Regions from separate parts of the Homo sapiens genome. Here all the other regions are linked to region 3. Evidence: promoter capture Hi-C in 16 types of primary human blood cells and fetal thymus (Javierre and others, 2016). All regions are on one chromosome and are shown on one strand. The core of a region is centred on a gene start or on the middle of the fragment in contact, and the rest is flanking DNA. Distances in the headings are between cores, read along the strand shown. Region 1 overlaps SETBP1 (SET binding protein 1). Region 2 overlaps LINC01478 (long intergenic non-protein coding RNA 1478). Region 3 holds the start of SETBP1-DT (SETBP1 divergent transcript). Region 4 overlaps SETBP1 (SET binding protein 1). Region 5 overlaps SETBP1 (SET binding protein 1). Region 6 overlaps SETBP1 (SET binding protein 1). Region 7 overlaps SETBP1 (SET binding protein 1).

Evidence for each region. Contacts are between HindIII fragments. The CHiCAGO score rates a contact against its expected background, and 5 or more counts as called.
Region 1: a contact is called between a fragment that was not itself captured here and the fragment with the promoter of SETBP1-DT in region 3, in 2 of 17 cell types (naive B cells and total B cells). The highest score is 7.5, in naive B cells.
Region 2: a fragment that was not itself captured here is called in contact with the fragment with the promoter of SETBP1-DT in region 3 in 1 of 17 cell types (M2 macrophages); the score reaches 7.1 in M2 macrophages.
Region 4: a contact is called between a fragment that was not itself captured here and the fragment with the promoter of SETBP1-DT in region 3, in 2 of 17 cell types (naive B cells and total B cells). The highest score is 5.5, in naive B cells.
Region 5: a contact is called between a fragment that was not itself captured here and the fragment with the promoter of SETBP1-DT in region 3, in 1 of 17 cell types (total B cells). The highest score is 6.2, in total B cells.
Region 6: a contact is called between a fragment that was not itself captured here and the fragment with the promoter of SETBP1-DT in region 3, in 3 of 17 cell types (naive B cells, total B cells and activated CD4 T cells). The highest score is 7.3, in naive B cells.
Region 7: a contact is called between a fragment that was not itself captured here and the fragment with the promoter of SETBP1-DT in region 3, in 2 of 17 cell types (total B cells and naive B cells). The highest score is 9.1, in total B cells.

The regions. Positions count from the first base shown.
Region 1 is chr18:45,040,853-45,043,695 of GRCh38, forward strand. All of the region lies in intron 5 of SETBP1 (SET binding protein 1), which reads left to right. Among named protein-coding and RNA genes, the nearest start is that of MIR4319, 72 kb to the left of the region's middle. The HindIII fragment of the contact is 2,800 bases long and covers 134-2,843 here.
Region 2 is chr18:44,325,180-44,328,109 of GRCh38, forward strand. LINC01478 (long intergenic non-protein coding RNA 1478) reads right to left here. Exons shown (of 5, transcript NR_110792.1): 3 at 1,068-1,303; 4 at 1-249. Among named protein-coding and RNA genes, the nearest start is that of LINC01478, 210 kb to the right of the region's middle. The HindIII fragment of the contact is 3,567 bases long and covers 1-2,930 here.
Region 3 is chr18:44,678,386-44,681,124 of GRCh38, forward strand. SETBP1-DT (SETBP1 divergent transcript) reads right to left here and starts at 1,487. Exons shown (of 2, transcript NR_187430.2): 1 at 1,231-1,487; 2 at 1-504. It overlaps SETBP1 (SET binding protein 1), which reads left to right and starts at 2,503. Exons shown (of 6, transcript NM_015559.3): 1 at 2,503-2,636. RefSeq lists silencers at 628-1,267, 1,938-2,187, 2,328-2,377. The HindIII fragment of the contact is 7,071 bases long and covers 1-2,302 here.
Region 4 is chr18:45,002,089-45,004,788 of GRCh38, forward strand. The region is part of intron 4 of SETBP1 (SET binding protein 1); the gene reads left to right. Among named protein-coding and RNA genes, the nearest start is that of MIR4319, 33 kb to the left of the region's middle. The HindIII fragment of the contact is 2,859 bases long and covers 1-2,700 here.
Region 5 is chr18:45,059,220-45,062,175 of GRCh38, forward strand. All of the region lies in intron 5 of SETBP1 (SET binding protein 1), which reads left to right. Among named protein-coding and RNA genes, the nearest start is that of MIR4319, 91 kb to the left of the region's middle. The HindIII fragment of the contact is 641 bases long and covers 1,033-1,673 here.
Region 6 is chr18:44,978,377-44,981,272 of GRCh38, forward strand. The region is part of intron 4 of SETBP1 (SET binding protein 1); the gene reads left to right. Among named protein-coding and RNA genes, the nearest start is that of MIR4319, 9.7 kb to the left of the region's middle. The HindIII fragment of the contact is 913 bases long and covers 1,139-2,051 here.
Region 7 is chr18:45,019,049-45,021,931 of GRCh38, forward strand. The region is part of intron 4 of SETBP1 (SET binding protein 1); the gene reads left to right. Among named protein-coding and RNA genes, the nearest start is that of MIR4319, 50 kb to the left of the region's middle. The HindIII fragment of the contact is 1,964 bases long and covers 527-2,490 here.

The sequences.
Region 1 (2,843 bases), core at 284-2,783, 360 kb after region 3:
GAGAATTTCACAGATTTGGTCCATTTCCGGGTCTCTGGCTGTTGAGCTGGACTTTTGGGGGGAAATAGGCCAGATATCTACCCCAGGTGCTGGAAGACAGACCTTCCTGAGATTTCACTCCCCACAGATAAAAAGCTTCCCACAAACCTGGGAGAGCTAGAAACACACAGGCTGGGCTTGTGGCCAATGCTCTGTTTTACATGTGAAGAAACTGAGGCCTCTTGAGATTCAGAGATTTGCCTGAGGTTATACAGTTGGATTGGAACCCAAATTTCCTGATTTACTGCCTGATTTCCAGTGGATTCCCACTTCTGTCATAGTCCCAACATGAGCAAAGGCAGATTTTTTTTCTCCATAAATATGGACTTCTACTTCTTTTGGAGAACAGTGAATGAAACTCATAATTTGATGGGGTAGATAGATAGCTTTAGCCAAAGCCAAGCACAAAGTAGGTAGTTAACAGTTTCTGGATTTGATCTTATTTAATTAGGTGCTTGAAATATAGTAACATATATAGTACTGTAATATGTATTTCTGATGAAACAACTCACTTGATTTTTGTTTTCTTTAGAGTGCCTTTCTTCATCTTTCACTATAAGCAAGGTAGAATTACGTCTGGCTTTAGGCAGGGATCAGCTTATTTTCTAATAGGTTACCATTCCTACAGAATGGTTTTGGAAACCCAGACAATTGCAGGGAGAAAAAAAAAGGACAGAAGAGTTAAACTAGGTGGCTTATAAAACAAATTTAAGCAATCGTGTATTGAGATAAGAAGGTACTGAAGTAATTCAATTAATTAGAAATTTTATTTAGAAATAATGGATGCAGGCCAGGCATGGTGGCTCACACCTGTCATCCCAGCATTTTGAGAGGCCAGGGTGGGTGGATCACCTGAGGTCAGGAGTACAAAACCAGCCTGGCCAACATGGTGAAACCTCTACTAAAAATACAAAAATTAACCAGGTGTGGTGGCATGCTCCTGTAATCCCAGCTACTCAGGAGTCTTAGGCAGGAGAATTGCTTGAACCCGGGAGGCGGAGGATGCAGTGAGCCGAGATTGCACCACTGCACTCCAGCCTGGGTGACAAAGCGAAACTCTATCTCAAAAAAAAATAAAAAATTTTAAAAAAAAGAGTGGATGCAAAAATACCTAGTACAGTTCCTGACACATAGTACATGCTCAGTAAATAATCACTGAGTGAAACAAATGTTTGAGAGGCAGTAGCTGTATGCTTTTACAGCATTAAATATGGTGAGAGACATCTGAGAAAAACATACTCAATCTTGAAACTGCTTTTTTTTTTTTTTTTTTTTTGAAATGGAGTCTTGCTCTGTCACTGAGGCTGGAATGCAGTGGTGCAATCTTGGCTCACTGCAACCTCCACCTCCCAGATTCAAGCGATTCTCCTGCCTCAGCCTACCAAGTGGCTGGGATTACAGGCACATGCCACCATGCCCAACTAATTTTTGTATTTTTAGTAGAGGCGGGGTTTCACCGTGTTGGCCAGGCTGGTCTCGAACTCCTGACCTCAGGTGATCCGCCCACTTCGGCCTCCCAAAGTGCTAGGATTACAGGCATAATGACAATTAAATGGAAATCATTTGACAGGCACTTTGTAGGCCGCTGGAAAATACTTGCCAAATAATTTATCAACCTGTAGTAAGAACAGCACTTTTTTCAAATAGGTGATCTTTGGTAAAAGTACAACAAAGGAACATTCCCACCTTATTTTATAAACGATACAATATGGGAGAAATGAATATGAGTCAGGGGTTTACAAATATGTGTTTTCTAGCTTGTATGCATATATGCATGTGTTATATGGGTCCCCCAATTTTTTTGTTTCAGGCAATTTTTTTACCTTCTCAGAGTCTCAGAGGCATAATGATTATGACATTATTGATTTGTAAAAGGGGGCCATCGAGGAGATGCAGGAGAGAGTGGCGAGCTGGGAACATGTCAGTTTGTGAGCTACTGGGAGGGAGGATGACAGTGGCTGCCGGAGGTGCTCAAACAGATCAGCCTCAGTGGTCAAACTGCTCAATAGCTATTGATCAGCTGCAGTCCCCTGGTGCAGCCAAGGAGGTCTGATTCAAGGGAGCATTGCATCATTATTGTGAGTAATTAGGGCTAATGCAGTAAAAGCGCCACTAAAGTTTGCTCAAAGTGAGGCATAATTTGAAACAACTTCTATTACACTAGCCCAATCATGATTTAATAATCATATCAGATAATCCATACCTGAATAAGCCAGGCTGATTTTTCTGATTTTCTAGATGTTGAACTAACTTCTCAGGGAGATCACGTAATGTATAGAGAAACTGTGATTTCATTTCAGAAACATGTTTTTTCCCCTTATATTTAAGATGAGTCTGTATGAATAAGTAGATTCCAAATGGTGGTAAGAACTCAGAAAAACATCAAGGCAACAAAATCTGTATGGTTTTGCACTTGAAAGACTAGACTAGCAATAATGGGAAGACAAGTATATCCTTTCTCTCTCTCTCTCTCTCACACACTCACACACTCACACACACACACACAAACACATACACACCAACATTCTCTCATCTTAAGTCCAAGGAGAAAAAAAAAAAAGCAAACATGTATCAGCCATGCTATCATTGGATCTCAACTGCTCGAGGTGTAGCTCAGTTTGAGATAACAAGGAAGTAGAGTGAGCACAGCTCTTAGCTTCTATCTGTTGTATCAAGGCTAATCCATTATTATTTCAAACTATATTATCTACCATGTTTAAAACTACCAGAGCCCATGAATAAGTAAAAATATTTAAATTTCATAAGTCTGTTAAATTTTTAGGCATTTTGCTTCTCATGGCAGG
Region 2 (2,930 bases), core at 281-2,780, 350 kb before region 3:
ATCATTACTCCATCTACTCTCCTGGAAACTGGAATCTCTGTTCAGTCTAGATGGCAAGGGCTGGTCCAGATTTGAAAATGATATCTTGGACTTAGTTGAGGTTATCTGCAGTCATTTTCACTATGTTTCATTCAGCAAGTAATGCAAATGATATCGTCTCAATCCAGGATATTGCTGGGCCAGTGGATGGCTGCCAGTGCTATCCTTCCGCTTGTAGAGGAAAGCCCAATGTTTCAAGACCTCTTCAACCTGCAGTGAGGAAGGAATGCACCAGTTCAGAGCAAAAGGTGGGCTCATTTCCATCCATACAGTTTTAGGATAGGGCAAAGGGCAGAGAATAGGCACCTCAGCCTAGATCATCTATATCTGACATCCAGGTTCTGGATTCATAACTTCTTGTTAAGCCAGTTTACCTCACCTAGTATTTTTTCTTTTTTGAAAATCAGGAATCAAAGTTTCAGTGTGTCAGATTTGGTCCTGGCTTTCTACAATGTACTCCTAGGCTGAAGTCATAAGAAGGGATCATCTCTAATTTTTATCCAATTTCTAACAATTCCAAGTTCATAAGAAGGGATCATGTTTTATTCTCAACCAATTTCTAACAATTCCAAGTGATATATATACGGGCATTGTCTCTTCAAAATGATATTAGCATATTCATTTCTGTATTCTAAAATATTAAAATGTAAAAATAACACATATATAACAGGTGACATTATGAATGTTAATGCTAACCCTCCCACTGCCAAAAATCTACCTTTAAAACTAACATCATACAGGAACATTCTGTTTTATATATATTCCCTCAGCCGAATCTTGTGCAGACAGTGCTTCAGTTGCAAGCAGATCCTGAAACAATTGTGAATCTGGATGCATTTCATGCTTTACCCCTAAGTTTACTTGTATTTGTGCTGCCCCCTGTAGGCGAGTTTTCAAGCACTGACAGTTGGTTAAACTCACTAAAAACCTCACTGTTAAGGATCTCAAGCAACTTGTGGGGATTATCATTACAAATCTCAGGTTGAAAATTGATCAATAACATTACCACTTGGAACCATAGCACTTACAGTATGACCATGTGATTCTTCCACCTCAGCCTGACAATATCATATTCTCCAGAGAAATAAGAGGCTGCCAAAGATTTCACCTTCTGCAATTTTGTCATAGCAATCTTCTCCTGTCTCTGTTTCCTATTTTGTGTTTTGTGGTTTCTCTGAAATTCCCCCTTACTCCACATCTTTCGACTCCTGATTTCTTATCATTGTTGTGACAACAGCTTGCATTTGTATAATGTCTCTTTCTTCTGCAAAACAGAAAACACAGAAATTATGTGTAAATCTCCAAGAATTCTTGCAACATCATCCATCTGATATGGGGGCAATGAAGAAAAAAAAAAAACAGAAAAACTGAAATTATTTGCTCAAGATGGTGCCATAAGAAGCATTCGCTCCCAGAGCCCAAAAGATGTGTGGTGAATAGGAGGCAAACCCTTGCACAGGGGCTCAGGGGGCCAGGTTCCTATATTGCCCCATTAACTATTTAATCTCTCAGAGCTAATTTCCCTTAAGTAAAAAAAGACAAATTCTCATCTGCCCACCATATACCAATATGGATAAAGGTAATAACTATGTAGAAAAAAGGTTTGCAAACCTTTGAGTGATATAAATATGAGCTATTACTGTTTGTAAATATTGCACCCAAGAATTAAAGATGATTTAAGTTTTTCCATGTTGTATGTAAAATCTAAGAGCATCTGCAACAGTTGTCCTTCAGAGAAAGGCAAAAAAAAAAAAAAGCCGTCGTCTTTTTCACATGTATCCATTTCGTTAAATAATTAATTCAAATCATACATATTCCTTTATACACCAATCCAGTTACGCTTTCAAAAAACTTTGATCACTTCTATCAATTTGTCCTCGTGATATATTTCCTTTGGAAATTTACAAACACACAATGCACAATGTATTTTTCTCTCAGCAGTTTGTTCTGAAAGGCTACTCAAGATTTTAACCATTTTATCTCTTTTATTTATAAGTGTGTCCCGTTACCATATACAGTCACATGTTGCTTAATGATAGCATACATTCTGAGAAATGCATTTTTACAGAATTTTATTATTTCACAAACATCATGGAGGATATTTACAGAAACCTAGAGGGTGTGGTCTATTGCTCCTAAGCTACAAACCTATACAGCATGTTACTGTACTAAATATTGTAGGTAATTATAACACAATGATAAATATTTGTGTAACTAAACAGGAAAGGTAGGACAAAGATATGGTCAAAACAATGTTTAAATGGCACAACTGGATAGGACACTTACCATAAATGGAGCTTGCAGGACTGGACGTTGATCTGGATGAGTCAATGAGGGAGAGGTGAGTGAATGTGAAGCCCTGGATATTATTGGAGACTAATATAGACTTTATAAACACTGTACATCGAGGCTACACTAAATTTATTTTTAAAATAAAGTAATTATGCTATGATGTCACTAGGCAATAGAACTTTTTCAGCTCTATTACAATCTTATAGGGCCACTGTTGTCATCTATGAGGTCTATCATTTAACAAAACATTGTTTTGTGGTGCATGACCATATTATCAAAAAGCCAAGTTAATAAAAGACAAAAATACAAAGATCTGCACATGTTGAGTAGAATAAACAAGGGGACACATTGTATGGCATTTTCTTGACTGCTCTGGCTAGGAGGGGCTTGCAGAGATGCCAACCAATTTCTTCCTTTTACAGGAGTCTGTAGAAACGGAATTATTGGGAATGTGAAGATGGTACAAAAATCTTGGGATTTTTCTAATCGAAGCATGTGTAGCTCTATTCAGAAATGTTCTACTTTGTACTTTGATATTTTCTCCCTCCCTAATCACACCCACACAAATGAAGCCTATCATCATAGGCTTGATTGAACCT
Region 3 (2,739 bases), core at 237-2,736:
CTCTTTCACTCCACTTCACTGCAGCGTTCCTATGAAAAACTTGACGAAGAAGTTCTGTGAAGGAACTCAAACCAGCAGCCAATGCAGGGAGGCAGCCACTGATGGCCTCAGTGAGGGAATGCCCCCGACGTACCTCCAAATCATTCCTCAGTCCAAATAGCCTAAAACTCTCATGAAGAACGTGATAGGAGTCCTCTCAGAATCCGAGTCCTCGGTCAACTTTACCCCAAGTTCTTTGAGCGGAACCATTTGCAGACCTTCCCGAATCCGTATCTATCCTATATTGTTTTACAATGTAGACATGTCTCTGAAGGGTTCCATTCGTGTTTCCCTGAAAAGACCCCCTTTGTAGGCCAAATACAAAAACTCAGAGATTACAAATGCCACCATATTTTGTAAGAACTGAAGACATTCCACTTTGTTCTTCCCACCCTGAAAACAACTGCATGCCAGTCTGCGTTTGTCATCTCTCCGTGTCCTTCCCTTCATCAAGTGTCCAATTCTCTTGAATAACGAGAAAATGCACATGAGATCTGAATGCATACAAGTCGCTTAACAACAACAATAAAATAATAATAATAATTTAAAAAAACCCTGAAAGTGAAATATAATTACCAGGTTAAAAAAAAAATGCGCCCAGTTTCGAGAGCCTATCACAGCTCACGTCTGGGCGCGCAGTACCCCCCCGACACTGCTCCTGTTGTGTCAGATAGTGGCAGTGTTGAGCCCAGGAATACGCGCGGAGCCCGCGGCGATCCCCGCGGCCGCTCAGTCTTCGCGGCGGACTCCGGCGCGCAGGAGCCACTGGGCCGCAAGGGCGCCGGGGAGCGGGAGGGGCGCTGGGGGCGGCAAGGGGTCCCAGATCCCAGGCCACGAACTGTTTTCCTTTTCCCCGGGCAAGAGCCCCGCTCCCTTCAACTGACAGAAATTCACTGGGGCAGGGGGGCGAGTGGGGAGAGAGGTCGCTCAGGGCTCGCTACTGGCTGCGCCTCCCCCGGCTCTGGTCTGGGAAGCGGCTCTGGGCCCTCCGGGCGAGCAGCTTGGGCGCCGGCGCCCCCTGCGAGGAAGATCGCGGGGTGACGGTCGGTACCCGTTCGGCTGGGCCGCGCTGCCGCTCCGATCCACCTCCCTTCCGCGCCCGCGCCCTCCCCCTTCCTTTCACTAGGAGTCCGGGATTCGGAGAGGGCGCGGGAGGCAGGCACACGGGCCCGACCCCACTCCAGCGCTCACCGGGGACGCGGGCGGGCGGCGACGGGACGCGGCGGGGGCGCGGGGCGGGCGCGGCCATGGAGCAGCAGCGGCGGCGGCGGCGGCGGCGGCGGCAACACTAGCGACCGCGGGCGGACGAGCGGGCGGGCAGGGCCGCCGGGCTCAGCGGACCGAACTGCACAGCTCAGCAAAAGCGCCCTCGCCCTCCGCGCGCCGCCTCCTGCGAGCCCAAACCCACCAACATTTTTTAACGCTCCAACCCATCCTTTGAAGAAAAGCAAAAAAAAAAAAAAAAAAAAAAAAAAAAGCAAAAAAAGAAAAAGCATTGATCGGAGAGACGGGGATATATATATATATATATATATATATATATATATAAAATTTTTTTTGGCTCCTGCTAAAATTAGCAGGGCTCGCCGCGCGCCTGTGTGCCAGTGTGTGCGAGTGTGTGTGCGTGCGGGCGTGTGTGTGTGAATGTGATTACTCCAGGACTCCTCGGGCTCCGGAGACGCCATTTTCCCCCTTGATATCTCTCTCCATAAATCGGTGGCGCGGCGGAGGCGGCAGAGTCGGGCGGGAAGCGCGGGGCCGGCCGGGGCGCCCGCCGCTCGCCGCCGCCTCCGCGCGCCCGGGGGCCCCGGCGCCCCCCGAGCTAGGGCGGCCAGCTCGCGGCTCGCCGTTTGACAGATGCTCATCGCCATGGAGTTGCCGCAGCAGCACCTTTGGGGGCTCGGGCGAGCGACGGGAGCCGGGATCTGAGCGAGCGCCGGGGCCAGCGGAGCCGGAGCCGCCGGGACATGGGTGAGCACGCGCGGCGACCTTGGCCCGGGAGCCCGGGCGCCCAGCCTCCCTCCGCGCCGCGGGCCCCCGCACTCCCGGAACCGGGGGCGACGTGTGTGCCCTGCATGCAAAAGTTCACGTCGCCTTGCTGGGTCTTTGACTTTGCACCCGGCGGGAAGGGGGAGACCGGGCCGAGGGGGCGGGATGCCGGTCCGGGCGAGGTTGCAGGAGATGGGCGCGATTCCGGCGGGCCGGCGGGTGGGCGGCGATGCTGGCTCAATTGGAGTGGCTCGTTGGTGGCGGCGATGGTGGAAGCTTTGGGCTGGAGGGCTGGGAGCTTATTGAGTTTCGCCTAATCTGATCTACCCCCCCTCCGCCCCCCGCCTTTTGCACCCTCCCTCGGTCCTGCAGCCGGCTGGCGGGGCTGGCGGGTTTGGCGTTGGTGGAGTGGACTCGGGAGGGGGAGGGGGTAAGGAAAGGGGTGGGAAGGCAGGATTTTTTTTTTCTCTCTTTGTAACTTGCAGGTTAAGTGGAGCTAGAGAGCTACATTGTAACCTAGTTGGATTTTTTTGGGGGGGGAATGTATCAGAATCTAACGTGTCGTTAATAGAAAGAAGAACAGGCAAGAAGTGGTCCAGCCGGCGAAGGTTGGTGTGTGCTTGTGTTGTGCCTGTGTGTTAGTCTTTTTCTTAAAAATCTTAATCAATGGATTTGAGTCTCTTTCTTGTGCTCTCTGGTTTTGGGACTCTG
Region 4 (2,700 bases), core at 147-2,646, 320 kb after region 3:
AAAAACAAAGCCTTCTCCCCCACAGTTCAGTTCCCTGGCTCCCTGCCCTGCCACCCATCCCTCTCCACCTTCTAGCTATGCTGATGAAAACAGGCCAAAACAGAGCATTTCAAAAATTCACCCTAGAACCCCAGCTTTCAGATCTGCGATCTGAAAAGGGCAAAGAGTGGAAGATGGTGGAGGGCAAGGGTTGAGAAGAACCATTTTTTTTTTTTTTTTGTCAAGAGGAACAGATTCCATTCTTGAATCCTTTGCCGTGTTATAAACAAGGCTGAGCACACAGCATTCCTCCTAAAGCACATGGTCCTGTTTTTACAACACAGGCCTGGTCCCTGCTGGAATTCAGTGTTTGCCTCAATACTGTTCGTCCTATTCATTTGGGATTTATTTTAATTTGGTGGTATTAATGGTGGCCAGGAATGGAACAGTTCTTTCATTCTTCTTCTGTTTTCCTTCTTATCTCCCTCCACACCCTCGATCTTTTATATTTATATTTTTAAGCATGTAAATGTTTCCAAGGGCAATGCCGAATTCTAAGCACTGCCTGTTATTGCCTTTGGTGGGTGCCTTCGCCCTCAAACCTGTAGCTTCCACTTTTGCTGGCATTTTGCAGTTCCTTCTCCAAGGTGCTCAAACTTCAGCAACTCTCTCATCTGAAGAGACATTATTGAGATTGTTTTCTTTATATAGAAAGGTGTTCGTTTGTTTTACCCTTTCAGGCTAGTTTTAAGGGCTCAGTTGAAAATGTAATCTGAGAAGGGACAGTGTAGACTTGGCTAAAAATGGAAACAGTGGGTCTTCTTAACTACTCACCACCTCTTTGAGGATTGATAGTTAAGAACTTGGGTTGTTGGGGTGGAGGTGGGAGCTGAGCACCTTGGTATATGTGAGAAACTAGTAATTAGATTGATCCATTTAAGAAATACACTGATATGTGCCAAACTCAACAAATAGGTCTTTTTCTCAAAAGGATACATCACATTCCACAAAGCTGCCATCGCTCAAAATACTTTGGAATATTTCTGAAATTATCTCCAGAGATTTTGGTATATTTTCTTTTAAAATTATTCATCAGAGAAAACCCTCATCCTCTGAGAAAACAAAAATATGCAAACTTTCAAAAATCACTTGTGCACAATTCTAGGGAATCTGTGTATTTTTTAGTTCCTCATCCATGAGCATACAGGACCCTGGGCTTTATTGATTGGCTCACAATCTGGTTCTATTGGTTTCAAACTCCAAGTGACATTTAAACAATGGCAATATCGTTGCAATAAGTAGTTTGCTTTTCATGATTACCCTCTTCCATTACAAGTAATGTATGTATGTGAGTTCAAGCCTACTGAGTGGGCCTTTGTCCTATTCAAGGAGCATGATTAGACAGCAGTCTATGCCACCCAACACCATCATGAACCAGCTACATGGGCAATATTTACTCTAGGCATGGCCTCGAGGACAGGAGGCACTTCCCACTGTAAACATGTGAACGAGCGAGTAGCCTGCCCATATCTCCATAGCCAAACCATCCTCATATGAGTCCAATAAAAGACTTCACTTCTCTTTCCACATTAGATGCTGGAAGAATAGTAATGTCATGGGAAAAAAAAAAAAAAAACAGCAGTAATCTGAAAGTCTTTTTTTCTTTTCCTAAATCTTCACAAGGTCTAGTTGCATAGGCACCCAAATGTCTGTTGACCTTCGTAATCTAAATGTGGTGACTCTCTTTTAAATTCCAGGAAGGGTGACATTTCTTATCACTGTGCTTTATGACTTAGGTGTGGGTAGTCCTTTCGTAAGATAGTATCCCACTACGCCAGTGATTCTTGCCTGGGTTTATTTAGCCCCCCACCAGGAGACTTTTGGCAATGTCTGGAGATACATTTATTACAGCTAAGTGGGGGCTTCTGCTGGCATCTGGTGAGTAGAAGCCAGGGATGCTGCTGAATACCCTACAAGGCGTGGAACAGCCTTTACCCTACCCTGTAACAAGGAATTATCTCATCTAAATGTCAGGCGTGCTGAAGTGGAGAAATCCTGCACCAGAATAAATCTCACCTGATGAACACCAAGGTAGCATATGGCATAGGTGTGAACATAGCCCCGGCAAAATATATGCACTTCTGCCTTCTTTGAGCATGACTTAGTATGGGGACCAATTATTGTGGTTTTCTTCCATTCATGCCATAAAAACGGAATACTCCAGGTAGATGTTGTCCTTGGCATCCCAAATTCATCTTTTTTACACCGATGGTTGGCGTGATGATTGGCCTCATTGTACCTTGGGTGTGATGCATCCTTTCACATGCACTGTGTAGAAGAAACAGCATCTCTACTGTCCAAGTTTATGTAAACTTCACTTTCTATTGTGTAACCAGCTGCCTGTTACAGAATCAAAGAATATCAGAGTAGAAGAGTCTCTTCTGTTTATCTTACCTGTGAGGAAACAAGAATTATAAGAATGTGGGTAACTCTTCAGGTAAATGAAAAAGAAACAGGGTTAGGACCAGGTGTCCTGAGATCTAACCTGGTGCCCACCTGACAGCCTTTCCACCACTCCTCCATCTTTTAGGCAGAGAGTGTGGCAGCCCCAGGCCCAGTGTTTCTGGCTCATAACATATCTATTTACAGGCCTAGGCAGTGAATCACAGGCTTCACTCATGGGTGAGAGCTTATTTCCCTCGGCTGCTGGACCATGCAGAG
Region 5 (2,956 bases), core at 103-2,602, 380 kb after region 3:
CCCTTCCTTAGTATTTTAAAGTGAATCCCAGATGATAGTATGTGATTTCATCTATTAATATTTTAGTATGCATTTCTAAAAGATAGGTACTCAAAAAGCATAATCACAATGCAAATATCACACCTACGGAAATTAATAGTAGTTACATAATATCATGAAATGCCCATTGTTCAAATTTCCATTTATTTCATGATCTCTTTTAACAGTTTGTTCCAATTGTCATCCAAATAAGGTCCTTTATCTCTTTAGTCTCTTTTGATGCACAGTTTCATCTTCTCCCTGCCCTGCGATTTATTTGTGGAAGACACCAGGTTGTTTGTCTAGAGTCTCCCACAGTCCACAATTTACTGAATGAATCCCTGTGTGTCTTCTGTCCTCTGTAGTTCAAGGTAGTTAGTTCTAGATCTGTGCTGCCCCATAGGGTAGCCACTAGCCACACTGTAGCTATTTAAATGAAAATTAGGTGATATTAAAATTCAGTTTCTCAGTCACACCAGCCACATTTTAAGTGCTCAGTAGCCACAAGTGGCTAGTGGCTCTATGGGGCAGCACACACATAGAGAACATTTTCGCCATCTTAGAAAACTCTGTTGGACAGCCCTACTCTAGTGGCTTAATAAAACTCTATGAGGTTGCCTTGGGGGGAAGTAGATGTTGAGTAGTAGGTGAGTCATCCACCAAATCTTTGACTCACAGTTGATCTCCTACACAGCAGTCACTTTAAACCTCCACAACTGGACTCTGAAGATAAAATAAAAGTTCAAGATGTACGTGTGTTTTTAAAGTTATGTAAGTAGTATACTTAAACATGTTTTTGTGATTTCCTTTTCTACCCAACTCTTTAAATGAGATTTAACCATGTTGATATATTTATGTGTAGTTTATTCATTTTAATGGATGTATAATATTGCATTATTTTATGTAACACAGTTGATTAATTAGATTGTTCTCAGTTTTCTGTATCATACACTGAGCTTCAAGGAACATCCTTATATGACTTTTGCCTCCTGATATATATGAGTAAAGCAGGCAAGCTTGACCTGAAATTGCTGGGACACTGAATGTGTACATCTTCAACTCTAACAGTTATTGCCCAATCACTCTCCAAAATGATTATAACAATTTACACTCCCACCAACAGTATGTGAGTGTTCCTAGTTTCTTACATCATTACCAATACTAGGTAGATTCAGATTTTTAATTTTTACCAACATGAGCTCATATATATGCAACAAAAGGATTAAAACAAGCATAGAAAAAAGGGAAAGGAATGGAGAAGGGAGCCATGACTTAGCTCCATCTGTAATGTTTTCTTATTAAAAAAAAAATGACAAAAAGTTAACATTTGCTAAATGTGAATGGTGGGCACAAAAGAGTTGGTTATGTCATTTTTTAGGATTGTTTGGTAGATTTACACTATCAGAATTAATTTTTATTTCATAATCCTTTTTTAATGCAAAGACTTAATAAATTATTCAGCACATGTTTTTGAATATGGAATTATCTGCTATCTGCTAGGTTTCTGTTTATTTATTTTGGTTTGGAGATTTTGTTTTTGGGGTTTGTTTACTTATTTATTTTGGCATTTCATTTTAAAAAGACAACACATAGAGTGACAATCCATTGGTTATATTTTCCCCAAATGACCTGCAGCTCATGGAGTATTTCCATCAAGCTTAACTCGGTCAAATACAGTATTGCCAACTAATTGATTTACTTTATACTTCTATATTACATGTCAGCAAGGTGATTTACTTTATTCTTTCATGCTATTTTATATAATATATCACATAGCATTTGCTTCCTCTATGACTGATATAAACTAAAGAGAGGGCAAACTGTAAATGAAAGCTTTGCTTGGAATACTGTCAAGTTTTGTGGAGTATTACTACTGACTAGTTGCCATTGATTCCTGAACTATGTGGACAAGGTAAATTATCTGTCACTGACATGAAGGTGGGCTAAGTTTTAGTATCACTATATTTGCAATGATCACTTTAAAAATCCAAACTAGAACTCTTCTAGGGAATACGACTACAAGGCCTGATTAGACTGATTTGTCAGTCCAGAAACAATTCTTAAATCTCTTTTATATACAAGGCACCCTGCTAGGCCCTTTGAGGGACATAAAGACAGACAGGCATTGGTTCTTGCCTCTGATAACTTACAACCAGGCAACCTTTTTCTTTTACAAAACTAACTACAAAAATTTTATTTTTGTAGTCAGAAGCTCACTCTGGCTTTGTTCTATTTTGATCTTTATAACTTATTTTAAAGATCATTCAGTAGTTATTCATTGCTCGGTCAGTCTCACTGACCTTTGGCCAAAAGCTGTAACATTTTGACCTGGCCTGTGGGACTCAGCTCTTTCCACTCCATGAAGCTGGGGGTGTAAATAACTTCAAATAAAACCCTCCTGGCAATCTGTGCTGGGCACAGCATGAGAGAGAAATGGGACAAAGCAGAGGAAAGAATCAAGTGGGAGTACCCACAATAAGTGAGAATGGTATCCATGTTTTAAGCGTCTTTTTTCCTCCTCTCTCTTAAGATATTTATTCTGCTTCTCTATTAGTAGGTACAAAAGTAATAATGGGAGGAAACAACAAACCAAAATGATAAAATGCAACACACTTCCCTCTATGCGTAGGTCTTCCACATGGGCTCCTTTCGGGTTGAACATGCAGCGTAAATCATAGCGGCAAAGAACTCAGTGAAGACACACTTCTTATGTTTATAAACAGCCAGGGGGAGTGGCCACCTTGAAGGTGGAGCCATGGAGTCTGTGTGAGTGTATGTGCCCATTTGTGTGTGTGTGTGTGCATGTGCACACAGGTATCACACATGTGCCTGCTCATGACCAACACAAGGAGAAAGAATGATCTGCAGGAGGAATGGTTGGCTATATCTTGAAGCCATTCACGCTTTATGGTGTCTGAACTTCAAAACTAAGCAGTTC
Region 6 (2,896 bases), core at 345-2,844, 300 kb after region 3:
AACCATAACATTTTACATGATATCTTGTAGTGATATTAATCACAAAGCCCAAATAAACTGAAGCCCAAATGAGTGAGCAATAGGAATCTAATCCTGATAGTATTATACTACCTGGTATTAACTTATACTCACCTGCTTTATCTGCCATGATTCTTATGATATCTGCCTCTGCCCAAGGTGGACTGGGTTAAATGTGATTAGCTCCATTTAACAGATTTAACAGATGAGAAGACAATATTTCAAATGAGGGCTCTTACTGAATGTCAAAATGGAAGCTTGCATTACTGTCATTCTTAACAAAGTCAGCAACACCAACCATAGTGAGTCTTTTATAGATGGACATAGAGATGTATGTTTCCCAAGCCCTGTTCTGTTTCCTGCACTGCAGACATGGGGTGGCTGCCCATGATGGCCTGCAGTGAGTTGGAGCTATTGGCTCAGTTTTAAAAGCTACAGGACGTGATGCCATTTTACATTGAAAAAAAATATTTAATGATCCCGGATGTCTTAAAGATTGTGCAGACACAATTATCCCAATTTTAAGATGAGGATATTGAGCCTCAAGAATTGAATAAATTGTCTAAAATCATGTGTCTCACAAGGGGCTGACCCAGAATTCGAACTCAAATCTGGCTGACTTCAGAGTTGGTGCTTTTTCTCCTCTACCAAGCTGCTGATTTAAACAACTCACTTATTTTACAGAGGTTGAGTAGGAGACCTCTGAGAGCCCAGGGAGGCTTTTCCTCTCCTGTCTGGTGACTGCTACCACAACACCATGAGAGGACTTCTACGGGCTTTTTGGCCATTAGGGGCCCAACCCACCGAATCTGCATTTGCTTCCCTTTGCAATCTGAGAGGTCAACTCCAGTATGTTTAAAAGTTTTGTGCTTTAAAACTGTATTCCTGGAAGCAGTCTGTTTTAACTTTGCCCCTAAGCCTTTCATATTTGCCTGGCCCTTTGTTCTAGGATAATTTCAAAGGAGCTGCCTTACTGTAATGAAATTCAGTGTACTACTGGCTGTATCCATATAACATTTCGTTCAGTTCGATGCTCAATCCACAATCTTGAAATAAAATAGTAGTCAATGAAATTTTCTGTATAGTATTATCCTCCATAAGTTCAAAGATAATTTAGTAAAGCTTGGCTCATGAAAGTGATCACAAAGCTGTATGATTCTACTGGGATACAGGGGTAATGTATTTGTGTGTTGAATGAATCTGAAATTTTGAGTCATTGATTGAGCTGGTCATTTTGATTTAAGAATTTGAGAAGAAAGTATTCCAGAACTAAGTGCTAACCAATGGTCCACACTGATATAAAAATCACAAATAACTCTTACATATGGAGGCTCTCAGAGAAACGAAATATGGTCAAGGCTCAAGAAAACTCACTCTATGCAATTGAATATTCCTTATTTTTTCTTAACACCATCTATTGCACATATTGGCTCACAGAGCAGAAACATGTGACTGTCTTGGTTCTTCATTCATGTTCCTCATTTAATACATTTACAAAAAGCAGTTCCTTCTTAATAACTAAGTTCATGTGTTTGAAAACCCATGTGGATGTAAATTTGGAGGTATGGAAATTTTGGAGTCAACTCAGCAAATGTTGATCCAGTGTCACTGTGTGCCCAGACTGTCTGAATGTCGTGGTTAGAGCAGTGACCACGAGAAGTGATGCTTTGTTCTCTATTCTTGTTTCTGTGGAACCGGACAATAAGCAAAGCCAGGAGCCTATAATATGATCTCAGATATTGATAAGTACTGAGTATAGAATGAAGCAGATTGAGAAGATGTAGAGTGATTGGGTGAGCTGGGAATATTTTGATAGTGGTGTCAGGACATGTATTTTATAAATTGATTGCTGAAATAAGACTAGAAATAGCTAGTTTGCACAGTAAACTGTTTTTAGGGCTCAGCATTATTTGATTACAACTTGCGTCTTGTCACAAACCATGGTTTAGTAGGGTTGGAAATGAGGAAATTTTACTACAATATGTATTATAAGAGCCAATTTCATAGATCGTAGAATCTCAAAGTTAGAGGAAAGCTTAGAGGTCATCCAGCCCCAAGTAGTTTCTCTGATTCGCACATTCTTCTGCTTTAAAAAAAAAAAAAATCTAGTCTCTAGAAACTCATTACTTTATAATACAACCAAGTTCAGTTCTGAATAGCCCCGACCTCCCGTGCCTCTCCCGTCTCTTACAAACGGAAACTTTGTCAGAGGAGGGAGAGGCAGGGAGGTTGAGGAGCCTTGAAAGGCTTTTTCCTTTTTCTCAAGCACTGGGGCTGCTCACCTTCACTGAAGGCACAGAAGGTGCAGGCCTCCAGCAGGAAGACAAGAGCCCATCCCTGCTGCCAGTTTCAGAAACAGTTTCCACAGCTCTAGGTTAAGGTTATGGTCATGTGTAGCAGGGTAAGAGGTTGCAAAGCATGGTCCTAGGGAAGCAGTAGGAGCCCAGGTTTGAAAGCAAGAAATATGGGTCTTCTAGACCTAGCTCTCATGGACAGGCTGTTGGTTTTGGCCTTCGCAGATCAGTACTTCTGCCTGGGCCTCAGTTTATGCATCTGTAAAAAGAAAGAATTGCATTAAATCAGTGGTTCCCAAAGTTAAAGTGGTCCCCAGACCAATAGCATCTGCCTCATTTGAGAACTTGTTTGAAATGCAAATTCTCAGGCCTTATCTCAGACCTATTAAATGAGAACCTCTGAAGCAGGAGAACAATAATCTATTAAAAACCGATGCACCCTTAAGTTTGAGAAACATAATTCTGCGTGATCTTCAAGGCCCTCAATTCCAGCCGTAACATCCTGTGAATCCCTGAGGCAGAGGCCCAAAACTGCAGCCAGCTCACTTGCCCCGACTCTCACCGTAATCTCTCAGGTTCCAGCA
Region 7 (2,883 bases), core at 259-2,758, 340 kb after region 3:
AACAGACAAGCCTTTGATGACACCACTGGAGACAGGAAGCCTCCACCTGCTCAAGCCTAGAACCCAGGAACTCTCTAGGCTGGATGTCCTTCAAGCACATTTTTGGCTTGACAAAAGGGCTGCCCTCAGATAACTTTGATGATTTTAAAAATGGTACTTTTAAAAACAAACACATTCCACATATTACATAACCAAGGCTGGAAAAAATAATGTTTTACTGTCAGGTTTGTTAGTTGGGAAATGTAATAATTTCCAGGTTTGGGGAATACAGTCGGGGAATTTCTTTTTACTTGACAAATAAAAATTATATATATTTATCCTGTACAACATGTTGTTTTGAAACATGTATATATTGTGGAATGGCTAAATCGAGCTAATTAACATACATTGACTCATGTATTTATCGTTTTTTGTGAGTAATTTTTTTAAATCTCTTTAAAAGTCTGGCATTTGCCTCATTGGCAATTCTTGACTATTTCATTTGCTCTCTGAATCCTGGTTTCAGCTTCCTTTCTTCTCTTTGGGAAGCTTAATTCTCAGGTTCCTGTCAAACCTGACAGTTATTTTTTAGCTCTGAGTACATGGATGTTTTCCATAGTTGTGGCCTAATTGCACATTCAGTCAGAATTGGTATTTTTTTTTCAACAGGTTCTGCAACTTCTTAATCCCACATTAGGCCATTACCTGTTTGAACCCAGGGCTAACTAAACAGAATTAAGAAACAAGCCATTTGTTGACAAGAATTTTTTTTTATACCTTTACCTAAAGGACATGCATAAAAAACACCTCTCATTCTCTCTGCCGGTTTTTGGAGTCCACACACTAAATTGTCAATTGTATTTCCAGTGGCCATGGGAAAGGAAAGCTGCTTAAGAAAAAGCACCTACCATAGAGACTTGGGTTCAAATTCCTTGTAACATTTAGTTGTGAGACCTTTGAATGCTTCTGAACATTTCAGCCTCATTTTCCTTATATATAAAATATGGTTGGTATTATCTACCTCCCAGGGTTGTGGCAGGTTGAGATTTAAAGTTACTCATATAATCGTTTGGTCTTCAGCCGTGGACAGTTAGTTGGTCCTGAAATAACCAAAGGGACTTTGTTAAAAAGTGGCTTCTCCTCGATCCCTTGAACCTGGGAGGTGGAGGTTGCAGTGAGCCGAGATCACACCACTACACTCTAGCCTGGTGACAGAGCAAGACTCTGTCTTAAAAAAAAAAAAAAAAAAAAAAAAAAAAAAAAAAAAAGTGGCTTCTCCTCGAAGGCAACACTAGGGCATGTCCTTCTGAGTCACTTTTACTATGAGGCACCCACACTTACATCATAGAAACACCCAGACAAGCCTGGACCTAACTGGGTTCTCCAGGCCTTTCCATGCCCAAAACCCATTACACTTTATTTGGTTTATCTAAAGAAAAAATGAGATCTTTGTTATCTTCTAAAAAATAGGAATGTTTCCCACATTTGGCTCTCAGATCTTCCCTTAAGGTGGCCAGGTGAATTTCCTACAGTTTAGGAGCAGAGGAAATTCTTCTATCTACCCAAAATGCAGAATCAGAAGGAATTAGAGGCCATAAAGAAACTCAGGACAAAAAGCAGTAACATGCTCAAACTCATAGAGCTAAAGATAAGTGAGTCTGGAAATCCCATGTCCTGAATCTCTGTCCTCTCACCATGCAATTTTTTTTGATGACCATAAACCATGCACTGAACACCTGAAGTCACCTCTGTATGGAGATGCTCCTGTCCAGCATGGTCTGTAAATGAATCACTAGGTGTGCAAAACTTTCCAGACATCAGTGCAATGTGCTTTGTTCTCTATTGCATATCCATCTGCAAATGTGGGGTGTTTGTGTATTGAACTAATCTCAATGTTCAATACTCTTCTTTCTATAGCGGTCAGAAATTCAATATGTGTGGTTTGTCTTTAGTTAGAATGATAATCATCACTGCCCTTTCTTGGTTATTATACCAATTCTTTTCATCTTTATCTTGTTTTGCAATGACATTGTTACTAAGGTCTGGCAGACATCCTTCTTCAATATAGTTGCTCAGCAGACATCTGTTGAACAAATAAATAGGTAATATGAATAAATACATGAATATCACAACACATATCAATTCAGTGGTATCTATAACTTACTGGACTGACTTCAGTTTGCAAATTAAACAAGGCATGAAATTTGAAATTAGTAAAACAATTTAGTTTTGGGTCTGTATGCCAGCTATCATCTATTTTGACTATTTTTAATCAGTTATTAGGATGCCACGGTTTAAATCTATAATGCATGTGCTTGTTTAGGAACTGACATTAATCCCCCAGCCTGGTCTAATGGCCTCCCCAACTCGCTCTCCTGGTTAAACTGCCTGTATGGTTTCTATCTGCATATCTGTCCTCTTAGACCACCAATGAAATGTTCACCCTCTGTCATTATTATTCAGTTGTTTCTCTTCTCTTCCCAAACCTCCCATTTTCTTTCGTGTGTTCAAAGCTTTTTCATAATTGGAGAATGAGCATTATAGGAAATTTGGTGCTGGGAATGAAGTCCTTTAAAACTATGTCAAATATACAACTCATAAAGAGAAGAAGAAAAATTGAAAACCCCAGAGCAAATATATAAAAATTCACATTTGCAGAATACATACACTAGAGAGGGAGGGTCTTATTTTCTTGAAAACATAACTCTCTCTAAGCCCTCCTCTCCAGCTTTCTCTAAACATGAGCTGTCCTAATGAATCAAATAAGATTTGATTTGCAAAAATAATCATTTGAGCATGGGTTTAGGTGTCTTCTGAGCAAAAAACATAACTTATTCCTTAGTGTTTCCCTCATAGTGCCTAGAAAGAAACTTCTAATGTAGAATTTGTCCAATAAATGTTGAG